Linked DNA regions of Homo sapiens: regions 2 and 3 are each linked to region 1. Evidence: promoter capture Hi-C in 16 types of primary human blood cells and fetal thymus (Javierre and others, 2016). All regions are on one chromosome and are shown on one strand. Each heading gives the region's core, a stretch centred on a gene start or on the middle of the fragment in contact. The rest is flanking DNA. Distances are from core to core; before and after follow the strand shown.

Region 1 (4,499 bases), core at 572-3,071:
GTGTTATCCTTGGGAAGGGGCCATGCTAATCTTTATATTATTCTAATTTTAGTATATGTGCTGCAGAATTAAGCACTGCTTTTAGGAATGTAGGTACTTTATTTATTTATTTTTGAGACGGAGTCTCGCTCTGTCGCCCAGGCTGGAGTGCAGTGGCGCGATCTTAGCTCACTGCAAGCTCCGCCTCCCGGGTTCACGCCATTCACCATGGTCTCGATCTCCTGACCTCGTGATCTGCCCGTCTCGGCCTCCCAAAGTGCTGGGATAACAAGCGTGAGCCACCGCGCCCGGCCAGGTACTTTATTATTATTTTTTGATACGGAGTCTCACTCTTTGGCCCAGGCTGAGTGCAGTGGCGCGATCTCAGCTCACTGCAACCTCCGCCTCCCGGTTTCAAGCGATTCTCCTGCATCAGGCTCTTGAGTAGCTGGGATTACAGGCGCGTGCCACCACGCCCGGGGCTAGGTTTTGTATTTTTAGTAGAAACGGGTTTCACCATGTTGGTCAGGCTGGTCTGGAACTTCTGACCTCAGGTGATCCGTCCGCCTCGGCCTTCCAAAAGGAATTTAGGTACTTTAAAATGCTGTTATGTATGTTAACGGAAAAGTAACTACATGCTTCATTTTCAGAACCAACATTCAAATGAAATGAACGTGTCAAATCGACAAAAGCTCAAAAAAGAGAAAAACATATAATACTTAAAAGTGGTTAATATACTCTTAGATTGCATAACTCTGGGGCAGTCTGAGTCCTATGATTTTCTTTTAAGACCCCAAGACTCTAAAATACCTGCTCATCACAAGTTTGTTCAGTGACAACATTCAGTAAAACTTAACATTTGTTTTACAAAATTATGTTGAAAGATATAAACATAAACGTATATTTGAAGCACAAAAATAATTACGGCTTTTTTTGGAAGCGGAGTTAGACATTTCCGTAGAAAAGTAGATGCAATCAATCTCTCCTGATTTTTGTCCTCCCCACCTTTAATTTTTGACAAACCGAATAACGACACTCACTATTGAGTACTTTTCTAACTCCCTATTGCATCACAAACGCCCGCAGGGGCTTAAAAAGCAGCAGGGGTTCCTGCCCTTCCCCACACTGGCCGGTGTGGTCTGGGGCGGGCCTGATGAGCACCTGGATTTTCACCCGGCGTGCTGGTAATTCCTACACTTGTGGGTGTTTGAGAGACATGAAGAGGGGAGGATGACCTCTTCCCGGAAGCGGGACTTCCATAAAAGAAGCGTGGTGGGCGGGTCCCGGGCACCTGTGGTTTGGTGAGTCCTCCAGGTAACTGTGATGCGGGGGTCAGCGGGAGAGGCACCCGGAAGCTCCCGGCGTCTGCACCCCGGCAGCGCGAGGAAATGCCCAAAGGTGGGTTCTCAGGCGTGGGAAGCTCGACCCTTCCCGGGGTCCTCGGCGAAGTGGCCGAGGCCGCGCCTTACGCAGGGAACTCCGCCGGGCCATCTGGGTGGCCCGAGTTCGCAGCAGCTTCTCTTCCGCTCGTCCCTCGGCCCTCTCGACGCGCACCCACCGGCCTCACCAAGTCGCACGCAGAGGGGCGGCGGGGCGCTGACCGAGGTCTAGGTCTCGATTGCCGCCGGTCGAGCCGCGCAGTTTGCCTGCAGACCTCGGTCCCCTGCCCGCGCAGCCTCGGCTCCATCAGGCCCGGCCCCTCGCCCGGGCCGTGGCTCCACCAATCGCAGACTTCGCCCGCCGCAGCCGCACCTGCGAGGAGGGGCCCGCGCGCCGCTGCAGCCGCCGTCGCAGCGTCCCCGCCCCGCTCCGCCCCTATCGCGGCGCCCCGAGATCACCCGCCTCCGGCGCCTGGCTCCCTGCAGGCGAGGAGCGGAAGCCGCTATCTGGAGGCGGACTCCGGCGCCACAGAGCCGGGGCAGCCGCGGCAACGGCGAGGCGCGAGGCAGGGGCGCCCGGCAGACCCCGCGACCCCGAGCCAGCGGGCGCCCCGAGCGGGCAGCCTCGCCGGGGGAGGCGGAGGCGGCCACGGCGGCCGCGCTCGGGCGCCCCTCGCGCAGCGCTCCATGCCCGTGTGGTGCTGCCGCTGCTCCCTGGCCGGTCATTTCAGGTGACTTCCTCGCCGGGGATGGGAGGGGAGCAGGCGGGGATGCCGCGCTCTCGAGCTTTTTGGCCTGGCCCGGGCCGGGACCGGGGTGGAGGGCGAGCGCCTGGACCGCAGCGTCCTCCCGCCTCGGCCGTCCTGCCTGGCGTGGGGGTGGGGTGGGGTGCGGTGTGGTGGGGTCCTTGCTCCGGGGAGCCCTGCGCTGTTCCCTTTTCTCGCTCTGGACCGCGCGGGTCACGGGACTGCGGGATCGGCTAGGCCGGACTGAGTCGGTTACGGCGAGCTGAGACTTCCCAGTAGTGCAAAGTTTTAGTGAAGGGGGTTCTACGAAGTGCCTGCCTCCCTAAAAAAAAATTATTTCTTAAAAAGTCTTCTAAATAATGTAATGAGTGGAAGGAAGGTAGGGAACTACATTTCAGTGTCATCTAATCACAAATAGATTCTGCCTTGTTAAGATGTTAGCCATGGTAAGACGTGTGTGTTGTAGAAATTTAAAGAATGAGGCGGTTTTACAATCACCTTATGGGGAAAGGTTTTAGGGGTGATAAAATATAATACATTTCTAAAATAAAAGTATGTTTTCTAGATCTAGCACATTTGGTCAACACCTCAGTCATTGGTGGAAAGACCAGACACTAGAAACTGATTTTAACCCTGGGGTGAAGAATGGTTAAGCATAGGGAATACTTTAGTACCTTGCTTTACATATACTGATGTTCCAGAATAATTCTATGTAAGACTTCTTCCCTGGTAAAATATGAAATTTTGATCAAGCCTTCCTAAATAGTGGGTTTCATACAATTTAGGTAACCCATGAACTTGGATGGAAAGAAAGGTATATCATTTCACTAAATTTTAAAAACTAATATTCAGTTAAAATATAAGCAACAAATCACAGTAGTATCTGTGACTGTCATCAGTAGAGATCATAAAATATGTTTATATCACATTGCAGTTAATATAGAAATACTGTTTATACTTATTCAAAATTATAGTAACACATCACTGAATTTATTGAATGCAACAGAGAAGCACATATATATATCGCGTTTACTTTTTATGACTGTTTTAATAGAATTAGTTTTCTTGTAAATCCTGTGTATATTTAAGAACAGTATTCAGAGAAGAGGTTAAGAAGCGTCATCCTATAGTAAAAGAGATGTAAGGCATAGAGAAAGTTTGGAACTTCTTTTGTAACAGCGATAATCCAAGCTTGTCTAACCTCTCAGTGAGTTTAGAATGAGTCTCTAGGTTGTGGATATTAAGGAAAAATTGTTTCATATAATAAACTGCTTGATTTTAACTTTTAGGCAAATTTGTTGACTACTGAGACAGCGGTTTGAAGGTATCAGATTCACTATGGAAACTTTTAGGAAATAGGTTCCCCTAGTGAAACTTGTTAAACTAAATAAAGCCCATGAGAATCTAACATGCCTTTCAGAAAATATTGTGTGAAAGCTATTTGACACCTTTTGATGCACAGTGTAGGATTCATATTCTTTTGACTAATACTGGGTGTTGAATACCATTTGCTTCCTGCCGTGCACAGAAATTTGGAGTAGGGAGTGAAAACAAAGTATTTGCTATGTTTTGGTCTGGAGGGACAGAAAGAAAAACAAGCTAGCTGCCAAAGATAAACATTATGATTAATAAACCACACTTTTTATTGCAAAAACAGTTCTGTTGTGTCTAAAGTATTTTTTTTTTTAGTTGTTTACCAGCTCCTTCAGGAATATGTTTCTGATTTACCAGTGCTATTTCTCGAGCAGTTTCAGGTCAGTTCAGGTCATCCTGGCCAACATGGTGAAACCCCGTCTCTACTAAAAACTCAAAAATTAGCCGGGCAGGGTGGTGTGCACCTGTAATCCCAGCTACTCGGGAGGTTGAGGCAGGAGAATAGCTTGAACCCAGGAGACACGTTGCAGTGACCTGAGATCGCACCACTGCATTCCAGCTGGGCGACAGAGTGAGACTGTCTCAAAAAAACAAAAAACACACAAAAAAACACAGATTATAAAACAGGTTGTGACATCTATTGTCTAACATCTGAATGGATAAGTAGTGAGAGAACTGTCCACTAACTTTCCAAAGGAAAAAACCTCTTCCTTCGTGTTCTGGAAGATGAAGAGTGTGACTGACTTCATTTGTGGCTTTAGAACCTTCTTTCCATGTGGTAGTATAAATTTGGTAAATTTTAGGTTCATGGTTCCAAAGACTATAAAAATTCAGTTAGTAAAGCATTTCATTTTAGTTTGAATGATCATTTAAACAAGTACTGCTATGGTATGGAAAAAGTCTTTTTGTTATCCTGATACTATGTCCACACTATCCTTTGAAATGTTCTCTGAAACTTTGTGCTGTAATGTTTCAAAAACAAAAAATGGAAGGCCTCTAAAAGCATCTTAAATGTCAAATA
Region 2 (4,499 bases), core at 1,406-3,905, 180 kb before region 1:
CAGGCCTTTGCAGTTGCAATGTACATATCTGAAACATTATTCTGCCCCCCCCCACCCCCAGTTGTCTCTCATGCTGTTCAGATCTCTGCTCAAATGTGACCTTAGTGAGGTCTTCCAAGAGTACCTTATTTGTAATTTCAAACTTTTTGATACTTTCTGGCCCTCTTCTTTGCATTACTTTTCTCCAGAGCACTTACTATACTTTGTTTTATTTATTGTCTGTCTCCTCCCACTAAAATGTGATATCCAGGTTCTAAGGGTTCTAAGGATGCTGTTGGAGAAACAGACTTGGGAAAGTACTGCTCCAAGCTCAAGCTGCTCTCACTAATGATCCTGTTTCTCGTCTTCATGTTAGGTGTTTTCTTAATAATGGCCACAAGGTGGCATGCATAATACCTAATTCCAAAAACATAGCCAAACATACTCTTAGGAGTTAAAGTTATATCATCCAGTATATGTAACTTTAGTTCACAATGGAAACAGCAGAAATTTTCCCAAATAAAATTTGGAAAAAATAAACAAGGAAAAAAGCAGCCCAAACCACAACTACTATCACCACACTGACCACTGACACCACAAGATACACAGTTTATCTTTCTCATTATGAAAATTTAGCATGTGAAAGCACAGGTTGAGGATTATTCTGGAATTTTCTTCAGGTCTTTGTTGTTTGCTTGGTTGCTTGTTTGCTTGCTTTTTAAATCTCTGTAGCTACTAAGCTTTCCTTTTGAGTGTGACAGTGGTAAGGGTCTCTCTTATGTCTTCGGGCATTTTATTTCAAAAGTTCACATGATGTAATCTTTATTATGCTTCTCCCCTCATAACAGGTAAGTCCTTGAGTTCACGACCATGAAGAAGTGATTAGTCAATTATCTGAGAACCACTTCCTCCTAAGTGAGAAGAAGAAACAAGCCAAAGATAGAAGAGGCAGCAGTGTGGGAAAAATTAAATGAAGAGACCTTCCCAAATTGTTCTCTTTTCCTGGTTCTCCTGTAAGGTGAGAATGGGCTGTATACACTCGGAAATGCATGCAACATCTATGGAGTGGTTATCTGTTACTCATTATATTGTAGTTCTCTGTTGTCATCGCTGAATCTCTGGTAAATGCTTGTTAGAGGCTACAGTGTGATCTCAACTGTACTGCAGGAAATTCAGGAAGGGTTGTATGCCCTAAATAGGCCTGGGTGGGAAAGGTGGAAACATCCACATTTTCCTTGGTGCCAGGGTGGGAGTGGGAACAGTGACTAATGAGTTCTTTGAGGAGCAGAGGGCAGAAGTCCTGAGTGCAAGATCCAGCTGTCCCTTCCTCCACAGATCCTCATTCCACTGCCAACTTTCAAAGTACTAATGAATAAGGAATCTCATTGGTTTCCTTTTAAGGGGCATCAAAATTCTGGTTCCATGTAAAATTTCTTATAGGTTTATACAATGTCTCTGCATTTTTAGCACCCTCTGTGTTTTCCATTGAATCTCATTTTTGAACAATTTCCCTTTCAAAAAAAGCAAAGCATTTTCCTAGTCATTCAAAACCATAACCAAGTTACTTGAAACATACTTGGAAGTACTCAAAAACACAGCCTGAATTTCATAAACCACGGCCTGAATTCCATCCTTTATATATTCACTAGTAGGTACGTGGCTAGAGAATAGTAGGCAATCACATTCTGCTTCCTAATTAGAAAGCAGCATATCTAAAGAACTACATTTGATATGTCATGAATAGAGGGCTCAAAATCTAAGCCAAAAGTAAAAAAATACATTATAACTAGTGATAAGAACATGTTGTACCAGAAAAGTAAATCCTCATAAGAAATGACAATCTACAATTTAATGAGCTCAGAATTACTCTAATCTTTTAATCTCCAAATATTCCTCAATATTAAAAGCCATTATATGAAGGTACATACATGAATCAGATGAAATAATTCACAAAGGCACTCAGAGAATCTTGGACTCTTATTAGCTTCCTTAAGTCTATAATATTATTCAGAAAAGGAACTAGGTGGAAGTCTACATATTATTTTCTGAACTTGATTGTTAAGACTAAACTGGTTATACATGTCTAGCTTCTCTAACTGGCCTGACATTCAAATAAAGACTACATAAATACACTATTTATTTATGCACACTTGTACACGGTTGTAACAATTTTTATATAAATATAATAAATATTTTTAGAATAATATAGAAATATACATGATCACGCTGTAAAACAATCCCAGTTACCAAGTTCTATTCTCTCTTATGTCTAAGTCACTGTCTTAGACTATAGTTTATGCTATGTGAAGTCAACTCTTTGCAGCCACAAGACAGCCTTTAGTTCTGTGCTCTACTATACTAAATTCATGGTATTTAGTTATGAAATTCTGGACTTTTGACAATCCTCTAGCAGAAAAGCCATGGGTTTCCATATGCCCTCGAATATAGCACTTCTGAAACTTTACTGTGTATATGAATCACCTAAAAACCTTCTGAGAAATATTCTTAGTTCACATTTCAAAGGGCTCCGTGCAAACAAAGCAGCAATGGCTGGAAATTATTCGGCCTTTGTTGTTTCCCTGTTTCTACCTCTGCTCAGTGACAAAAAACTAAAGAACATACATATTGTCCTTAATGTATGACTGCAACTATTAACACTAGGTAAATTATAATCCATAGTCCAGTCTAGTGTTTGTAAAGAAATCCCCATTCTAACTGGCTAGTCTCCCTGCTATGATGTAATCTTTTCTTGTGTGTCATTCCAGTCCCTTACAGTAATTTCCTAATTTCAGGGGAAAATTGAGTTTGCCTCTCAAAACAAAGCTGATACATGGTATTGCAAAGAAAAGAACAAGATTTCAATGCATCTTATTTTAATAGTCTATTATGAAGCAAGTCACTACAACCAGCCTTTACAAAACAGCTTATGTTAAAAGTTGGGATATTCTGAAAGGTAGTTAAAGAGTAATTTTTATTTGTTCTGCACAAAATAACCTTTCCTCTAATTTAAACAATGCAAGTGTAAACTAACAGCATAATCCCAATATATAACTCTTTCCAAATCCAGAGAAAGAAATGAAGTGATGTCTTTTAACCATCTTTCTGTCTCTAAGAATAAGAGATTATAGAAGATGAAATGTAGGAGACACAGTATGAGATCTTCTCAGAGAGCTTTAGGGCCCCTGCTACTTGTAGATAAGAATGAGCTAATTAGTGGGTTTGAGCAACAGGGATTTGATGATGCCACACCAGGAAGACCCTCAATCAGTGCCCATTGCAGGAAAGAGTGCCAAGGTGTTCTCATCAGCCCAGCTGAAAGCACTTTTCCTGGAAACAGACAATATAAACATGAACTTCAAAAGGACACGAGCAAGTATTATTCTTTCCATTTTGGGGACTTTACACAGTGTTCAGTGAATAGTGGGTACTTCATTAATAACTCAAGACTTTTCAAAGCCTAGAATCAGAGCATTTGACAAATGCTGATTAGCACCGGAGCTGGCATTTGTCAAGCTCTGACTTTTAACTCCTTTCCCCTCAGAATATCTGTGGTCCAATAAAATATCCCTGCCCCAGAAGGCAGGTGTGAGAGAGTACTGTGTTTGGCAAAAAGGAACACCGAGCTCTCTCTAAAAGGCAAATATACTTCTGCTTTTTATTTGTTCTAACAAAGACAATGGCCATCCGTCATGTTTCAGAGGAGCAGAGGACATCCACATGCATACTTGGAGGCCACTTCCCCAATCTTTGCTGCAATCCCCTTGTATCTGCCCACTGGAGACCAAGAAGATACACAGTTCAGCTCCTCTAATCTTTTCACAAATATAACAACGCTTAGGTGGGTTTGTAGAATCTTGGGGTAATCTCATGCCTAGCAGTTAATTACCAGTTCCTTGGTGCGCCTTACAAAACTACACTCACTAAGTAATCACACATGACATGCTCATTCATTTAGGCCACCACCTACCTCAAACATTGTTCAAGACTTGAGAGAGGTGCATCTCCATGAAGAATTATTGGCACTATTTTCTCTTCTACTTAGAGTCACAGGACAGCAGAGCCATATGCCACAAACAAAAATCAAACCAAAATAACATAAAATATTACCACTGTTAAGACGAGAAAAAGAATATGTTAAGATGGGGCAGGAATGCTGAACACACCTCTTTCCTTTCCCTGACTTTTTAAAACACTGCTACGTCCTTGTCAAATTCTGTTTGAGAAGTTAGACTCACACGCTTCCCAAATCTTAAAGCCTAGGAATACATTTTCCAGTAATACAGTAACTAGCGACAAAATTACTCTTCAGTCAAGCAAGTTGAAAGAAGTATGGAATTCATTTTAAATGGGTTATTAGCTGAATACTAAAATCAATCGTTCAATGTCCCAGGATTTTATCAATTAGATTTAACTGTAATTTAAGACAGTCATTAGCTTCCTAAATTCTTAAACTTTCAGAGCTTATAAAAGCAACACAGCCTGGCTGTGTATTTCAATCACCAAGTAGAGTCAAAACGTGT
Region 3 (4,499 bases), core at 656-3,155, 160 kb before region 1:
TATAAAACATTGGTAAGAGAAATTGAAGAGGACAAAAATAAATGGAACAGTGTCCTGTGTTCATGGATTGGAAAAATTAATATTGTCAAAATATCCATACTACATAAAGCAATTTACAGACTCAATGCAACCCCTATCAAAATTCCAATACTATTTTTCACAGAGATAGAAAAAACAACCATAAAAGTCATGTGGAACCACAAGACCCTGAATAGACAAAGCAATCTTGAGGAAAAGGAGCAAAGCTGGAGGCATTACATTACTGAATTTTAAAATATATTACAAACTATAATAATTAAAACAGCATGTTACTCATAACAGATACATCAAACAACAGAATAAGATAGACAGCCCAAAAGTACACCCAAATATCGATGTTCAATTAACTTCCAAAAAAGATGCACGATGTAGAAAGGACAGTCTTCTTTAAATGGTATCAGGAGAACTGGATATCAATATACAGAAAAATAAAAATGGACTCTTTTTCACCAGTTATAGAAGAATCAACTCAAAATTAATTAAATTCTTAAATTTAGGACTTGAAACTATAAAACAACTAGTAAAAACAGGGGAAAAGCTCCATGACGTTGGAATGGGCAGAGATTTCTTGCATATGACCCCAAAAGCACAGGCAATGAAAGCAAAAATAGACAAATGAGATCACATCAAATTAAAAAGCTTCTGCACAGCAGAGGAAACAACTAACAGTAAAGAGACAACCCATACATTGACAGATATTTGCAAATCATATGTTAGATAAGGGGCCAATATCCAAAACATACAAGGAACTCAACTACTCGGTAACAAGAAAACAAATAATCCCAAACTTCTACCTGGACATCCAGGCATTTCTATATATCTTCTGAAATCTAGGCAGAGGTTCCCAAACCTCAATTCTTGACTCCTATGCACCCACAAGTTCAACACCATGTGGAAGTTGCCAAGGCTTGGGGATTCCACCCTCTGAAGCCATGGCCAGAGCTGTACCTTGGCCCCCTTTAGCCATGGCTGGAACAGCTGGGATCCAGGGCACCAAGTCTCGAGACTGCACACAGAAGTGGGGTGCTGGACCCGGCCCAGGAAACCATTTTCCCTCCTAGGCCTCTGAGCCTGTGATGAGAGGGGCTGCCACAGAAGTCTCGGACATGCCCTCGAGACGTTTTCCCCATTTGTTGGTGATTAGCATTGGGCTCCTCATTACTTATGCCAACTTCTGCTACCAGCTTGAATTTCTCCTCAGAAAATCAGTTTTTGTTTTCTACTACATCTTCAGGCTGCAAGTTTTTCAAACTTTTATGCTCTGCTTCCTCTTGAACACTTTGCTGCTTAGAAATTTCTTCCACCAGATATCCTAAATCATCTCTCTCAAGTTCAAAGTTCCACAGATCTCTAGGGCAGGGGCAAAATGCCACCAGTCTCTTTGCATAGCAAGGGTGACCTTTACTCCAGTTCCCAACAAGTTCCTCATCTCCATCTGAGACCATCTCAGCTTGGACTTTATTGTCCATATCACTATCAGCATTTTGGTCAAAGCCATCCAACAGGTCTCTAGGAAGTACCAAACTTTCCCATCTTCTTCTGAGCCCTCCAAACTGTTCCAACCTCTGTCTATTACCTAGTTCCAATGTCACATCTACATTTTTACAGCAGCACCTCACTCTGTCAGTACCAATTGACTGTATTAGTCCATTCTTGCACTGCTATAAGGACATATCTGAGACTGGTTAATTGATGAAGGAAAGAGGTTTAATTGACTCACAGTTCCACAGGGCTTGGGAGGCCTCAGGAAACTCACAATCATTCGCAAAAGGGGACGCAAACACATGCTTCTTCACATGGCAGCAGCAAAATGTGCAGAGCAAAGGTGGGAAAGCCCCTTATAAAACCATCAAATCTTGTGAGAACTCACTCACTATCGGGAAAACAGCATAAAGATAACTGCCCCCATGATTAAATTAACTCCCACTGGGTCCCTCCCGTGACTGGTGGGAATTATGGGAAGTACAATTCAAGATGAGATTTGGGTGGGGGACACAGCCAAACTGTATCAGGCAATATGGTCATTTTAATTATAGTAACTTTCTGATCTATAGGCATGAGATGTTTTTACATTTGTTTGTGTCATCAAAAATTTATTTCATCAGCCTGTTGTAGTTTTCCTTGTAGAGATCTTTCACTTCTTTGGTCAAATATATTCCTAGGTATTTTGTATTTTTCATAGTTATTGTAACTGAAATTGCCTTTTTTATTTGGTTCTCACCTTGATCATATAAGGGTATAGAAGTCATACTGATTTTTGTACATTTCTTTTCTATCCTGAAATTTTACTGAATTCATTTATCAAATCTAAGCGTTTTTTATCGAATCTTGAGGGTTTTCTAGATATGAGGTCATATTATCAACAGAGATATATTGACTTTCTCTTTTCCAATTTGGATGCCTTTTATTTCTTTACTTTGCTTAATTGCACTGGCTAAGACTTACAGTATTATGCTGAATATGAGTGGCGAAAAGTGGGAATCCCTGTCTTGTTTCTAGTTCTTAAAGGGAATGCTTTCACATTTTCCTCATTCAGTATGATATTGGCTATTGGTTTGGCACACATGGCTTTTATTATTTTGAGGTATGTTCCTTCTATGCCTAATTGGTTGAGGCTTTTTATCATGAAGTGTGGATGAATTTTTTCAAATGCCTTTTCTGCATCTATTGAGGTGATCATATGTTTTTTCCTTAATTATGTTTATGTGATGAAGCCCATTAATTGGTTCACATATGGTAAACCATCCTTGTATATGTGGTATAAAACCCACTTGATGATGCTGTACTATCTTTTTGATGTGCTGTTTGATCTGGCTTGCTAGTACACTGCCTAGGATTTTTGCATGTATGTTAATCAGGGATGTTTATCTGTAGTTTTCTCTTTTTCTTGTGTCCTTATATGTTTTTGGTATCAGCATGATACTGGCTTCATAGAATGAGTTAGGAAGAATTCTCACCTCCTCAATTATTGTAAACTGCTACCACTGCAGATGGGTCTTACCTGCAAGTGTCACCTACTTACTGGCCTAGAGGGTGGAGTGCACAGTCCATTACAGCATTTGCTTACACAACTATAGAGCACTTGGGAACAAGATAAGCTTCTTACAATCATTGCCTATACCACCCTGGCTACTCAGGAGGTTGCTGCTACTAAAACTGGCATTTGAGAAAGCCACCGCACTAAGACTATTTATGTCCAAGGAAACAATACTGTCTTTAGCACTGAACACACCTAGAAGAAAAGCCAAAAGACGCTACCCAACATATACTACAGTTACATTCTAAAAAAAAGAAAAGGCCTGCCCCAATAAAAGTAAATGTAAAAATACGAAGTGGCAACTATATCTCCAGATGCACAGAAATCAGCAAAATAGTACAGGAAGCATTAAAAGGCAAGGAATTATGACACCCCCAAATGAGTACAGTAATTTTCTGTTAATGAATCCAAACCAAAAATAAATCAGAGTGCCAGGTAAAGCATTTAGAATATTGGTTTTAAAGAAGCTCAATGAGATCCAAGAGAGTTCTGAAAACTAACACAATGAAATCAGAAAATCAATTCAGGATATAAACAAGAAATTTACTGAGAAGATAAACATCTTAAAAAATAACAGAACTTCCGGAAATGAAAAATTCATTGAAGAAAATACAGAATAAATTTGAAGGCATTAAAAGTAGACTGGACTAAGCAGAAGAATGAATCTCAGAACTTGAACACAAGTCTTTTGCATTAAGCCAGACAAAAACAAAAAGGACAAAAAAGAATGCACAAGCCCTTTGAGATATATGAGACCACATAAATCAATCACACTTGTATTCCTGAGGAAGAAGAAAAAGTAAAAAGTTGAGAAAACCTATATAAGGGAATAATTGACAAAACTTCCCTAGTCTAGCAAGAGATTTAGACGTTCAGATATCAAAAGCCCCAGTGATTGTCAAGAAAATCAATTGCAGAACAGACTTCATGCCATATAATCAGACTGTGAAAAGGCACCATGAAAGAAATAATTATAAAATCAGAAAGAGAAAAGCATCTAGTCACCTATAAAGGAATCCCCATCAGACTAATAGACTTATCAGCAGAAACCTTAAAACCCAAAAGAGAATGAGATGCTATTTTCAAAGAGCTAAAAGAAAATGTCAGCCAAGAATTTTATATCCTGTCAGAATAAACTTTATAAATGGAGAAGAAATAAAGCCTTTTACAGGCAAGCAAACACTGAGGGAATTTGTCACCACTAGCCAGCCAAACAAGAATTGCTCAAAGGAGTCCTAAACATGGAAATGAAAGTATAAAACTCACAGACTTTATAAAACAATCACACAAGGGAGCAGGAGAAAGGAATCAAATAGCAACACAACAGAACTCCACCAAACCAGAAAGACAAACAGAGAAAAAGATAGAAACAAAGAATTTATAAAAGAACTAGATAACAGTTAACAATATGACAGAAACAAAA

Evidence for each region. The method cuts DNA at HindIII sites, captures the fragments that hold promoters and counts their contacts. A CHiCAGO score of 5 or more calls a contact.
Region 2: a fragment that was not itself captured here is called in contact with the fragment with the promoter of OSGIN2 in region 1 in 16 of 17 cell types (monocytes, M0 macrophages, M1 macrophages and 13 more); the score reaches 20.0 in monocytes.
Region 3: a contact is called between a fragment that was not itself captured here and the fragment with the promoter of OSGIN2 in region 1, in 3 of 17 cell types (M0 macrophages, total CD4 T cells and monocytes). The highest score is 6.7, in M0 macrophages.

Annotation. Positions count from the first base shown.
Region 1 is chr8:89,900,749-89,905,247 of GRCh38, forward strand. OSGIN2 (oxidative stress induced growth inhibitor family member 2) reads left to right here and starts at 1,822. Exons shown (of 6, transcript NM_001126111.3): 1 at 1,822-2,089. The coding sequence starts at 2,046. It overlaps LOC124901974 (a long non-coding RNA gene), which reads right to left and starts at 1,658. Exons shown (of 2, transcript XR_007061001.1): 1 at 1,271-1,658. It also overlaps the pseudogene RNU6-925P. RefSeq lists enhancers at 1-466, 467-1,232 and silencers at 1,526-1,824, 1,574-1,913, 1,944-2,393, 3,387-3,446. The HindIII fragment of the contact is 4,461 bases long and covers 1-3,293 here.
Region 2 is chr8:89,718,069-89,722,567 of GRCh38, forward strand. It overlaps PARAIL (palmitic acid regulated anti-inflammatory lncRNA), which reads right to left. Exons shown (of 5, transcript NR_125822.1): 4 at 3,947-4,088. Among named protein-coding and RNA genes, the nearest start is that of PARAIL, 37 kb to the right of the region's middle. The HindIII fragment of the contact is 3,877 bases long and covers 718-4,499 here.
Region 3 is chr8:89,743,038-89,747,536 of GRCh38, forward strand. The region is part of intron 1 of PARAIL (palmitic acid regulated anti-inflammatory lncRNA); the gene reads right to left. Among named protein-coding and RNA genes, the nearest start is that of PARAIL, 12 kb to the right of the region's middle. The HindIII fragment of the contact is 2,459 bases long and covers 677-3,135 here.